Linked DNA regions of Homo sapiens: all the other regions are linked to region 1. Evidence: promoter capture Hi-C in 16 types of primary human blood cells and fetal thymus (Javierre and others, 2016). All regions are on one chromosome and are shown on one strand. Each heading gives the region's core, a stretch centred on a gene start or on the middle of the fragment in contact. The rest is flanking DNA. Distances are from core to core; before and after follow the strand shown. Region 1 holds the start of FGF8 (fibroblast growth factor 8). Region 2 overlaps BTRC (beta-transducin repeat containing E3 ubiquitin protein ligase). Region 3 has its middle 12 kb from the start of LINC02681.

What was found. The method cuts DNA at HindIII sites, captures the fragments that hold promoters and counts their contacts. A CHiCAGO score of 5 or more calls a contact.
Region 2: a contact is called between a fragment that was not itself captured here and the fragment with the promoter of FGF8 in region 1, in 1 of 17 cell types (megakaryocytes). The highest score is 5.4, in megakaryocytes.
Region 3: a contact is called between a fragment that was not itself captured here and the fragment with the promoter of FGF8 in region 1, in 1 of 17 cell types (endothelial precursors). The highest score is 6.9, in endothelial precursors.

Annotation. Positions count from the first base shown.
Region 1 is chr10:101,772,976-101,777,448 of GRCh38, reverse strand. FGF8 (fibroblast growth factor 8) reads left to right here and starts at 1,335. Exons shown (of 6, transcript NM_033163.5): 1 at 1,335-1,580; 2 at 1,673-1,709; 3 at 2,233-2,319; 4 at 2,537-2,717. The coding sequence starts at 1,549. RefSeq lists enhancers at 436-1,254, 1,691-2,429, 2,430-3,168 and a promoter at 1-1,530. The HindIII fragment of the contact is 3,344 bases long and covers 548-3,891 here.
Region 2 is chr10:101,458,721-101,463,334 of GRCh38, reverse strand. It overlaps BTRC (beta-transducin repeat containing E3 ubiquitin protein ligase), which reads right to left. Exons shown (of 15, transcript NM_033637.4): 3 at 1,277-1,354. Among named protein-coding and RNA genes, the nearest start is that of BTRC, 110 kb to the right of the region's middle. The HindIII fragment of the contact is 172 bases long and covers 2,992-3,163 here.
Region 3 is chr10:101,273,673-101,277,850 of GRCh38, reverse strand. No RefSeq gene overlaps it. Among named protein-coding and RNA genes, the nearest start is that of LINC02681, 12 kb to the right of the region's middle. The HindIII fragment of the contact is 3,121 bases long and covers 1,349-4,178 here.

The DNA.
Region 1 (4,473 bases), core at 86-2,585:
GCTGCTGGACTAGGGCTGCCGCTAATTTTGGCCTAATGGCTTCCTGGGACCACACCAAACCCTCCAGCCCTACCCCCAGGGGAATGGAGGGTCACTGGGGAAGGGGAGGTTGTAAGTGAAGACAGCAGTCTGGTAGGGCATCACCTGCTCCTCACAAGGCACCTGTCCCAGAGCATCTCTGTCCACCCAGGCTGCTCCCACAGAAGCAGCATGGGGGCTCAGGGTTTCCAGAAACCTCAGGGGGGAAGCCACAAGGTGGGGGGCTAGGAAAGGCTTAGACAAGTGCCTACCTTCTCCTATGCCCCAAGCCCAGCTGACCAGCCCCTGCCTAGAATACAGTAGGTGTGTAAATACCTGTGAAATGAAAAACGAGTGGGGCTTTGAGGGGGAAAGGGCTGGGTGGCCTGGATGGAAGTCCCTTCCCCCAGTAAAAGCTACTGAGAGTTTTTTTGCCCCTGCTGCCTGCTGAGGTACGGGGACAGTGGGTCCTGCCAGGGACCTCCGGACTCTCTCTTCCACACAGGTGGCTCGGGGTGCTCCTCAAGCTTCAGGCTAGTGTGTGTGTGTGTGTGTGTGTGTGTGTGTGTGTGTGTGGTGAGGGGCACAGGGGAAGGGGTGATAGTGATAATGGGATGGGGGGAGGGGGAGGCATTTCTGGCTCCCAGGGCCTCCTCGGGAGAGTGAAGGAGACTGGAGAGACCGACAGGACGGGGCACGCGGCCGAAACAGGGGAGCGGGGTCCGGGTGGCACCGGCACGCACTGCGCGAGGGCCGGGTGCGCAGCCATTCGCTGCATGGTTAGCGGCCGCTCCCAGGGGCCCGGCGGGACACACAGTAGGTGGCTCGGAGACCACTGCGTAGCCGGCGGCGGAAGCGGCTGGGCCCGGAGGCGGAGACCCAGACCCGCCAGACTCGGGCGCTCCAGGCGGTCGGGGAAGCCCAGGCTCGGGGTCTCCCGGCCCGCAGAGTTTGCAGCCCTAGGCGCCCCCATCCCCGCGCGTCCGGGACCGGGGAGCGCGCGAGGGGACAGGCCGGGGATAGGGGGAGGCGCCCAGACCGGCCGCCCCCGCCCCTCCCGCGGGTCCCCAGACCCCTCCCCTAGCCCAGACCCTCAATCCCGAACCCGTCGGCCGCCCCTCCCCGGCCGCCCCGCCCCCGCCCCGGGCTGCATCCAGGCCCCAGTTCCCAGCCGGGGGCTGCGGGCTCCCGCCGCCCGCCCCGCGCTCCCCCCTCGCGCCCGGTGCGGCGCCCCCCGCCCCCACCCCTCCCCGCCCTCCCACCTCCCCACCCACCCCGCCAGCCCGTGACCCTCCCGCCCGCTCCGGCTCCCGAGCAGCCAGCGGCCACCGGCTCCGGCAGCGGCGCACAGCGATTCGGTGCGGCGCGGCGAGCACGACGTTCCACGGGACCCGCGGAGCCGCGTCGTGATCGCCGCCGGCCTCCCGCACCCGCACCCTCTCCGCTCGCGCCCTGCTCAGCGCGTCCTCCCGCGGCGGCCCGCGGGACGGCGTGACCCGCCGGGCTCTCGGTGCCCCGGGGCCGCGCGCCATGGGCAGCCCCCGCTCCGCGCTGAGCTGCCTGTGAGTACCGCGCCGCCCTGCCCCGCCACCCGCCCCCCGCGCCCCTCGCCTCACCCGCGCCTCTCTCTCCCGCCCGCTTTTGTCTCCCACAGGCTGTTGCACTTGCTGGTCCTCTGCCTCCAAGCCCAGGTGAGGAGGGGTGCGCGGAGGCGGGGGCCGGGCGCGCCGGTGTGAGACCCGGGTGGGCAGCGCCGGTCGGGGGCACCGGGACTGACTCTGCGGCCGGCGCGGGAGGGCTGAGGGCACCTTAGAAACCCAGCCCCGAGCCACCCCGAGGAGGGAGCTGAGGCACAGAGAGGTAGCACCCCTCCTGAGGTCACACAGCGAGTGAGTGGCCAGGATAGAAACGAAGGTCTCGGAGCCCAGCACTGTCCCCCATGCATCCTCGCCGGCTGGGGGCATAGGGAACACCCAGCCGCCGAGGAAGGGGGCAGCCGCGGCCAGGGGATGGATGTTCGATGCCAGGGGAAGCCGGGTGACTGCAGCAGAGACCCTCTCAGCGCCCCTCGGGGGAGGCTTGTGGCCGATTTGGCCCAATGATCGGGTGCCCAGGTTCCCTGCACTCTCAACATTTGCTCCGTAAATTTGTCTTTATAAATGTCAGGGGTCGGGGAGGGCTGCCTCCCTACTTAAAAGCGCCCTGCTCCTCTAGGAAGGCCCGGGCAGGGGCCCTGCGCTGGGCAGGGAGCTCGCTTCCCTGTTCCGGGCTGGCCGGGAGCCCCAGGGTGTCTCCCAACAGGTGGGTCCAGCTTCTCCCTGGGGCTCGTTCATCCTGGGCTGGGTCTGCCCGACTTGCGTGGGTGGGGGATGGTGGCCTGGGCTGGCATGTTGGGGGAACCCCCAGCACCTGCTGGCGGCTTGGGGCAGTGAGGGGGACGCAGGGTGATGGGGCCACTCGGGCCCCTGGGCGGAGTAGCATTATAATGGTGTATTGTGTATTTTTCAATTTCCTAAAGGTAACTGTTCAGTCCTCACCTAATTTTACACAGCATGTGAGGGAGCAGAGCCTGGTGACGGATCAGCTCAGCCGCCGCCTCATCCGGACCTACCAACTCTACAGCCGCACCAGCGGGAAGCACGTGCAGGTCCTGGCCAACAAGCGCATCAACGCCATGGCAGAGGACGGCGACCCCTTCGGTAAGGCGCGCTGAAGGTAGCTTGTGGGATGCGCGGCGCCTGGACCACCAGTCCCAACTGCACTGGCCGGGGGCCTGCAGGGTCCCCAGCTCAGAAGGGAAGGAGTTAAGGCAGAAAGGTGTCTTGAGGGTCAGCTGGGGAAGAGAGGGCTAGGGAAGGGGCCTCGGGGAGTACTTGGCCACAGGTGCCCCCTTCCCTGCCCAGCAAATGAATGAATCTAGGAATCTCCCTTTACACCTCCCCCCTTCATACACTCCTCCCCAGCTGCAGGTGGAGGCAGGGGGTTCAGGGGGAGGGGGCCTAGGTTTAAGGCAAGCGCTTGAAAGAGGATATGTCGCCAGGGCCCACAAAAGGAGAGTGGGAAAGAGAAGGGAGAGAAATCCCCTCAACTCTCCCAGTTGGAAAAGGAGGTTGCTGGGAACCCTTAAATACTTTAATCGGATGGGTCAATTTACACGTGGAAACTGGGCTTGGAAGGGGGCTCTCCCTGCTCCATTCCCTGGGGAACCCAGGCGGCTGGGGCAGGGCTCCCGGCTCCCTGTGGGGTGGCAAGTGCGGAGAGCTACTGCCGGCAGAGAGGCTGAGGACTGATTGATTTCTAAAACATTCAATATTCCTGCCTTGAAACGGGGCCAATTTCCAGAGTCCTGGATGTACCAAGAGAAAAGCAAGCCCTCTGGGCGGCTGGTGTTGTTTTTAGAGAGCGATTATTGTGAGTTTAAAAACCTTTAAATAATGACCACGTTAAACAAGCATGAAAGGAGAGGGGAAGACTCTATTAAAATGTAATAAAAAGGTGAGGCATTTTAAGAGCTAAGAAGAAAAATGAAGAATGATATAAAACAGAAAAAGAACGAGCTTTTTTTCAGATGTGGAGTTTGAAAGGAGTTGCAAGTCTGTAAATGTTAAAAAAGAGGTTCAAGATTGTTCTCTCTGAATCTCTGGAGAGACCCCTGCGTCTGGCAGAGCGATTAAAACTCTTCTTACTTTCACCTTTTTTAACATTTCCTGAATACTTTCTCCTCTTCTTGAGCCAGTTTGGGGGATCGAGTATGTCTCGCTGCATTTTTTCTGCATCGACGTAGCTGACTTCCCTTCAAAGCTGGAGGAGACATAATTTTCCTGGGATAAATCTGTCACTGGGGTGGAAGAATAGGTTTGAAAATGTTAAGCTTTCCAAAAGCCCGGTCGGGAGAGCTGCCGTAAACTGCGGCCCCAGCTCCCCAGATCGGAGCAGATTCAACCGACATGGGAGAGAGCGGGCTTTCTGGGGTGGGGGTGGGGGCGGCCTGCCTGGTGGCCGAGCTCCCCTACTGGGCTGGCAGAGCAGGCCTACCATCCCTTTGTCCCTCCAAATTAGCTGCTTGCTGCCCTTCTCAGCTTCTAAGGAGAGGAGACGAATGCCTGGCTCTTCCAGGGTTTGCTCTGTCAGAGCAAATGGCCCAGCATCCTTGGATTTCGGGGAGGGAAGCAGAAGTCAAGCTGGTGTGGGGGAATTCATCTTCAGACATCAGAGGAAGCCTGATGTCCACTTCTCTCCGTGGCCATATAAGAGGTTTCCCGCCTTCCCTAGTCCCTGCCCCACAGCAGGATAGGAGCTGGAGGCCCTAAGAACAGAGGCTCAGGGTGTTCAGCCAGGACAGGAGTAGTCCGGGGAGAATAGCAGAGAGGTCTCAATGGCTTCTTTACCGGCCCCAGGAAGATGCAGAGGCACCTACTTCATCCCTGCCTGCCGCATCTGGCCAGAATCCCCAGA
Region 2 (4,614 bases), core at 1,828-4,327, 320 kb after region 1:
CAGTGGCTCATGCCTGTAATCCCAGCACTTTGGGAGGCTTAGGTGGGCAGATCACAAGGTCAAGAGTTTGCGACCAGCCTGGCCAACATGGTGAAACCCCGTTTCTACTAAAAATACAAAAATTAGCCCGGTGTGGTAGTGGGCACCTGTAGTCCCAGTTACGCAGGAGGCTGAGGCAGAAGAGTCGCTTGAACCCTGGAGGTGGAGGTTGTGGTGAGCCAAGATCACACCACTGCACTCCAGCCTGGGCGATAGAGCAAGACTGTGTCTCAAAAAAAAAAAAACCCCAAAATACAAAAATTAGCCAGGCATGGTGGCAGGCACCTGTAATTCCAGCTACTCAGGAGGCTGAGGCAGGAGAATCGCTTGAACCCAGAAGGCAGAGGTTGCAGTGAGCCGAGATCACGCCACTGCACTCCAGCCTGGGCGACAGAGTGAGGCTTTGTCTCAAAAATAAAAATAAAATAAAATAATAAAAATAAAAATGAATAGGTGGCACACTTATTCTCTGGCAACATCATAAGAACTTGCGTTTCTTGTTTTTGCCAAGGACATTCTAATTTTTACAAGAACACAATGGTATTGAACTTTCACAAGTAAAATGTGTTACCTTCTATTGGGGCACAGTGGTGAGCTATTTTTTTTTTTTTTTTTTGAGACGGAGTTTTGCTCTTGTTGCCCAGGCTGGAGTGCAATGGCGCAATCTCAGCTCACCGCAACCTCTGCCTCTGGGGTTCAAGTGATTCTCCTGCCTCAGCCTCCTGAGTAGCTGGGATTACAGGCATGCGCCAGCATGCCCAGCAAATTTTTGTATTTTTAGTAGAGACTGGGTTTCTCCATGTTGGTCAGGCTGGTCTCGAACTCCCGACTTCAGGTATTCGCCTGCCTCAGCCTCCCAAAGTGGTGGGATTATAGGCGTTAGCCACCTTGCCCGGCTGCTGTTTTTTTAAGTTATTATTAACAATGGCCTTTTCTTCTAGAAAAAGCAAACAAAATATTGCTCATACTAAAAGGGCTAACTTTATTACAGGCAGATCTGTTTTTATACTTTTTTAAAAATGCCAACCAGCTGTCCTGTACATGTATACCTAGAATGTTTTTTAAATAACTGGGAAAACCATGTCACCTGATTGAAAGTGATGGCTATGGCCAGGCCAACGTCCGAGTACTCTTAATATAAGCTCCAGTGCTTAAAGAATGGCAAATCAAGGGTTTCCTCCTGTCTTTTGTTTTGCTGTTGGTAGCTTTTTATTTTAAGTAAGGCTGAATTTCATACCTGTCTAAGTGAATTCTTCTCTGGTATTATCTTCCTAGGGGGTTCGCCATTATTACAGTCTTCTCTCTCTGAGGAATTCTGTGAAAGAAAGTAAGCTTTAATTCAGTTCTCATTATCTTCAATCTTATCCTTTGGGAGTAAACTGAATTACATTTCTAATTCTGTAAGTTAGAACATACATATATTTATACAATTATTCACTTGAAGATTTGTATACATACAGATATACACATATGTAAAAGAAAACATATGCCCATGTATATAAATAAATTATGTAAGGATTTAGATGGGAAGTATTTCATGTATCTTTAAGCATTGTGTAGGAGATCATATTCATTAGATCTCTAGCTTGCACTTTGACACAGGTTGACACTGGATACAAGAAAGTTCCAGCCCACACTTAGCTGATGACAACTAAAACCATGATTATTACCTTCTCTCGATTATAGTAGATGTTTGGTTGGCACAGATCTCCAAGTCTGGGTCCTAAAAATAGTTATTTCTCTTCCCCCTCTTCTCAGATTTGATTTTATTTTCTTTGATAAAAGTAGCATAGGACTTAAAAAAACATTTACTCAGTAGTTTAGGATTAGAGTCCATTCCTTGGCACTGTCACCTCAAACAGCAGCTAGAGGCCCTAAAATGTCAGTGGGGTTTTTATATACTTAGGAGGGGGAAAAAAACAACAATCCAACTGAAAATGAGTTCATAAGTACTAAAAATCTGCTAGTCAATATATGTAAATCACTATCTACAAGGCAAAATACAGAAAATCCAAATTACATATTATTTGAGTTCCATTTTCAGCAACAACATTAGTAACATTAATAACATTAATATTTAAAACCCTGCAGTTGTGCTAGGTGCGGTGGCTCACACTTGTAATCCCAGCACTTTGGGAGGCCAAGGCGGGCAGATCATCTGAGGTCAGGAGTTTGAGACCAGCCTGGCCAACATGCTGAAACTGTGTCTCTACTAAAAATACAAAATTAGCCAAGTGTGGTGGTGGGTGCCTGTAATCCCAGCTACTCGAGAGTCTGAGGCAGGAGAATCGCCTGAACCCAGGAGGCCGAGGTTGCAGTGAGCCGAGATCACACCACTGCACTCCAGCCTGAGTGACAGAGCAAGGTTCCGTCTCAAAACAACAACAACAAAAAACTTACAGTTAATATATTCCTTACATTACATATAGTCATAACGTTCTAACAGGAGGGTTAGTTTATTTGTAGGTTCAGAAATTATTTTTAACATGAGAGTTTATCTGAAAATTTTCATACAAGCATGAAATTATTAATATACAATCATTACTGTGTTCTAAACCTACATGTAAATTTCACTTTTTTGGTTTCTATTAGATATTACATTTTGAAAGATACTGAGAGATAAAAAACGTACTGTGTCATTCTGAGGCCCTTTCACCTCTGTGGCTGACACCTGTGTGTCACCTTTAGTAAGCCTGACAGGCCAGTACCCTAATGTGTTTCTTTTGGGCAGAAATATCTTATGAGGTTTAACTTGATATTTTACATTTGTGATGATCCCTTGTAAAAGTCCCTAAAATTAAAGAAAAAGCATGCTATATTACAAAGAAAGGGACAGAGACTCAAGAACTTCAGAGTTCTAACTTCTTTTCCTCCCTGTTTGGAAAAAAAGGAATGGAGATCATCTACCAAAAAATGGAGGAAGGATATAATTGAATTAATGACTACAAAGCTTGACAAATGAGGCGACTGGCAATACATGCTATGTAAGAGTATCAAACAAAGAAAGGGAAAGGTCAACATTTATTTACCCCATAACATCAAGTTGTATGTTTAACTTTTTTTTTTTAAATGTAAAGATCAATGTTTTAAATACCAAAATTAAATGCCTTATATAATAGAAGCTTAAGCCAGTATCCAATTATAAACTTAGAATTTGCAAGTAACTCTCTTTCAGGTCATGAAATTCCTCCTTTAAATAAATAAATAAAAAGATCAGATAAACTAAACCTGTTTAATTCAGTGTAAGATCCTGTATTTCAAAATTAATTATGTTTTTTGAAATGTTATCATATAACTTGGAGCCTAATTACTTTTTGCTGGAAGTTTGTCATACCAAAGATACTATAAATCACATTTTTATTATACAGGTACTTGGGCTGATACACAATTGCTGGCAAACTCCTCTATACTGAATTATAAAGTGAAAAATAGTCATCTCAACCTTAACAGCCTGAGTATTGACTAGCCCATACTCACAATTTTCTTTTTACTGACCCTCTATTTTATCAGATTTAGATGGATAACCACTGGGTGGGTATTATGAAAATGTCTAAAGAATGAAAACACAAAGGGAGCTTAAAGGGTGTTACTAACCTAACATAGAACACAGAGCTTCTTAGGAGTTCCTTTCCCCTTTCTATCCCACTAGGGCAAAGAATATTTAAATGGTATTGTTAAAAATAACTCTTAAACAAAAAATGGGGGAAACCCATAAACATTGGTATGTTCTTTTAATACAGATTAACCCAACACTTTTACTCTGGGCCATCCATCATGAGAAATCAAATCAAACAAAAAATCCAACTTATAATGTTGTTACAAAAAAATAGAGGTAGGGACATTAAACAGTCATGATATCAGGAACAAGGATTAGGAACCCTCCTAATACTAAAGAGTAGAAGCAGAATGCCAGTGAATGAGATTACTAGGTCTACAGTCTTGAGGGTAAGGGGTAATGATGAAATAGCCATGTATACCTAAGTAGTCACCTCAACAGTTCTCAAAGCCTGTCCAACATCACCCAGGAAAGCTCAGCAACACAGTTATTCCTTGCATCTTTATCTATGAGGATTCCCAATAAGCTATGTGCATAATTTTCCTAGATCATCAGGCTAAATTATATCCAATAAATTCTATTTAAGGATAAGTGATTAATATAAGGAAGAATCATCATTGGGTGCTAAAATTAGCAAGTGAGCCTAGTACTTTGGCATATGCGTGTAATCCCAGCTGCTCAGGAGGTGGAGGCAGAGGGACTGCCTGAGTCCAGGAGTTTGAGAGCAGTCTGGGCATCACAGCAAGACACCATCTCAAAAACCTAAGTAAAATTTAAAACTACAATAAGTGAGTGAAAGTTTGACAAGTTAACAGGATGGTCACATAATCTCAAAATATTTTTTCTATAAGATACTTGATAGTTACAATGAAAAAAGAGTAACCTCATAGTGGAGAAATCCAGCAGATGCCACCTTAAGATTATGTGCCTTTTAATATGATGTACTGAAAACAGCACATCACTTGTGAGGTATCCTTGTCAAAACCACAAAACTTAAATCTACTTATAAGAAAACATCA
Region 3 (4,178 bases), core at 1,660-4,159, 500 kb after region 1:
CGAGGCTATGGTGAGCTGTGATTGCGCCACTGCACTCCAGCCTGAGTGACAGAATGAAACGGCGTCTCAAGTAAATAAAGAAATACATATTTAAAAATAAAAGTTATTTCAAAAAAAGAATAGGAGATCCTGGGGAAAGAGGCAAAAGGATCCTTCTGGGACGCTAGAAATGTGCTGTATCTTCATCTGGTTAGAAGTTACAGTGTGTGTATAAAAATTCATTTAAAATTCACTTAAGGGCTGGGTATGGTGGCTCACGCCTGTAATCCCAGTACTTTGGGAGGCTGAGGCAGGCAGATCACCTGAGGTCAGGAGTTTGAGACTAGCTTGGGTAACATGGTGAAATCCCATCTCCACCAAAAATACAAAAATTAGCCGGGCATGGTGGCGTGCGCCTGTAGTCCCAGCTACTCGGGAGGCTGAGGCAGGAGAATTGCTTGAACTCAGGGGGTGGAGGTTATAGTGAGCTGAGATCATGCCACTGCACTCCAGCCTGGACCACAGAGCAAGACTCCATCTTAAAAAAAAAATTCACTTAAGATTATTGTACTTTACTGTACATGTTATACCTCAATTAAAAAATAATTATGCTACAACCTGACAGATAAAAAACATTATGCTATCAGGCAGCCTAAGATTAGTGCCCAGGAAGGAGTATAAAGGACTATGGACCTCAAAGGAAGAGATATGCCTGGTGGTCATTGTGCTTGGGGAGGATGTTCAGGAAAGATTTTGTAGGAAGAGCCATTTCCTATAGGACTTGAAGGAAAGGTGGGGTGTTAATAAGGAAGAGCTGTTGAGAAGGAGTTTTCCAGTTGGGGTGTAATTGTGAGCTGGTGGGCAGCAGAAAGAAGGCTGCAAAGGCAGTTTGAGTTTAGATCAGCAAGACCCTCTCTGAATGCCAGCCAGCTGAGAAGTTCTTACTTAACTGAGTGCCATTGCTTTTGAGCAGAACAGGGACAAAATGGAGTCAGCTTTAGGTGATTCATATGGTCACTGGTGGATTGGCTGGATGGAGGGCAGAAAGGCATTTTGGCTGCTACAATGATCCTGAGAATGAGCTTGCAGGCCTGCTGCAGCCCCAGGGCTGTGGGATCCAGGGTCTCAGGTCCTTTGGGTATCAGGGCCATGCCCCAGGAAGAGATAGAATGCAGTGATGGGAGTTGGTGGGAGAAGTGGGCATTAGGTGAGGGCTCAGCTGAGAGTAGAATCCTCAGGGAACCTCCTTCCCAAGCCCCTGCTGGCAGCATCTCTTGCTGCTTCTTCTGCATTGATTTATCCCTGGGCAATAATTTTGTTCTCTGGTCCTTGCTCTAAAGGACTGCTGGCAGCTGGGCCCTGGAAAGCTTCTCTGTAGCTGCCTCCTGCCTCCCAGCAGGGCCCAGCAAGATGCCCAAGACAGAGGAGGTGAGCAATAAATATTTGTAAAGTAAAGGCTAGAGATCTGGCTCAACTAAGACAGCAAGAGGCTATAGGAAGCCAGCAGGAAAGTCCTCAGAAGACAGAATAGCTAAAAGACCGGAAGGAAAGTGGAATTTGCCCAAGTCACATCCTTCTTATATCACTTACTAGCTGTATGATCTTGGGCAAGGTACCTTCCATGCTTCAGCTTCTATTAAGTGGGGATAATCATGGTACCAGTTTCCCTGGGTTATTGTGAGGATGAAATGAAATAAAGCATCCGAAGCATTTGGATACAAAACTTGATACAAAGTGGCACTGAAGAAATGTTAGCAATTTTTATAATTGCCTCTGAGTGGTGGGATTAAAGGTTTTCTTTCTCCTGCTTCTTTACACTTATTTTCTACTTGGCTAAGCAGGAAAAAATAAAGTAAAAGAGAGAAGAAAAAAGAAACTGGTGATAGAAACATGCTTGGAGGGGCAGCCAGAGAAACAGACACCGTTATTCAGAAACATTTCTCCAGCCCCAGAGCAGGGAGAAGGAGCTGTACCCACAAGCCTGGGTAGGAACAGGCTGGGTTTTAATCTTACAGGGTGGGAGAGGTGTAGATTGATTGGCAGGTAGATGATGTAGATCTACGAACAGATTCAATGTCTTTTTTTTGAGACAGAGTTTCACTCTTGTCACTTGGGCTGGAGTGCAATGGTGAGGCCTCGGCTCACTGCAACCTCTGCTTTCGGGGTTCAAGCGATTCTCCTGCCTCAGCCTCCCGAGTAGCTGGGATTACAGGCATGCGCCACCACACCCAGCAACTTTTGTATTTTTAGTAGAGACAGGGTTTCACCATGTTGGCCAGGCTGGTCTCAAACTCCTGACGTCAGGTGATCCGCCCCCCTTGGCCTCCCAAAGTGCTGGGATTACAAGCATGAGTCACCGTGCCCAGCCTTTTTTTTCTTTTTTTGAGACAGAGTCTCTGTCTCCCAGGCTGGAGTGCAGTGATGCAATCTCAGCTCACTGCAGCCTCGACCTCCAGGGCTCAAGCGACCCTCCCACCTCAGCCTCCTGAGTAACAGACTACAGGCGCACACCACCATGCCCGGCTAATTTATGTATTATTATTATTGAGATGGAGTTTCACTCTTGTTGCTCCGGCAGGAGTGCAATGGTGCAATCTTGGCTCGCTGTAACCTCCGCCTCTGCGATTCAAGTGATTCCCCTGCCTCAGCCTCCCAAGTAGCTGGGATTACAGGCACCCACCACCATGCCCAGCTAATTTTGTAATTTTTAGTAGAGTTGGAGTTTCACCATGTTGGTCAGGCTAGTCTCGAACTCCTGACCTTAAGTGATCCACCTGCCTCGGCCTCCCAAAGTGTTGGGATTACAGGTGTGAGCCACCATGCCTGGCCTATAATTATTATTATTATTATTATTATTATTATTTTGTAGAGACAGGGTTTTACCATGTTGCCCAGGCTGGTCTTGAACTCCTGGACTCCGGCAATCTGCCTGTCTCAGCCTCCCAAAGTAGATCCAATATCTTTAATAAAACATCATCATTCATTGAGTGCTTCCAAGGTGCCAAAGTTTTTATATGTTACTACTGATCACCACAACCCTGCAAAGTAAATATTATTACTCCAATTATTGCACTACTCTGAGAAGTAACTTGCCCAAGGTCCTACTGCAGAGCTGAGATTTGAACTCAACACTGAGATGACTTATTTCCACTAAACTTCAGGGCCATTTTCCACATATGAGATGCACGAAATATATGGACCTCATATATAAGGGTCCATATATGAGACCCCTAAAAGAAGAGAGGCTGTGCAGCCACGCCCTCAGGCCCGAACTCCCTGCCCCAGGCAGGACTGAGCTGTATTGGGCATTCCCTCTCCCCATCCCTTTTCTTCTCTCAGGTTATTGCAGAGAACGGCCAGTTCCTGCACTTGTCCCCAGACCTCCTCTCTGAAAGTGGGCACCGGACACCGGTCCCTGCCCCCAGCCCAATCAAAATTCCCTCTTCTGTTCCCTCTCCACTGCTGGTGACACCTCTTCTCTCCCATGCCTGCCACCACCATCTATCAGCAGCACTTTAAGCTCTGCCACAGCCTCTCGAAGTTGCTAAATCCCCTATTTGGTTTAGTTCCACTCCAACTCCCCCTGCACAGAGGGAACCGATGGGACGCAGGGAAATTATACACATAATAAAGAGCCTGTTTGCTCCAATAATTCTGATAATGATACACACCTCACTCCTTCCCATGCACACACAGCTGTACACACATGCACATATCACACCCTATACCTCCCAATCCTCATGTCCACCAAAATACCTTCCAACCTGCTGACATGCAGCTCACATCCCAGAGGCGCCCCCCAGACCAGTGTCTATACTCATTCACTAAGGTACACACCCTGTTCTTGGGAAATTCTCTGGGTCACTTTGCCTGTTCCCAGCTCCCATAGTACATGGCATTCCCCCTTCACGGCATTTCCCAGCTATGTCCTCAGGGCCTGTCTTCTCTGGAGCTCATTAGATTGTGAGCAGTGATAGTGTCTATGTGGTTCACTGTTTAACCAAGTGCAGTGCTTGGGACATGGTGGCGCCTCCATAACCTGGTTGAGTGAATGATGGAATGAATGAATGCACACTTTACTACATTCATCCCCTTACAGACACACATCGCATCTTGGGGTATCCCCCATCCCCACCCACCCACACATCACCCCTCTGAATTGCATCTTACATAGATACACACACATCGTGGGTAATCAC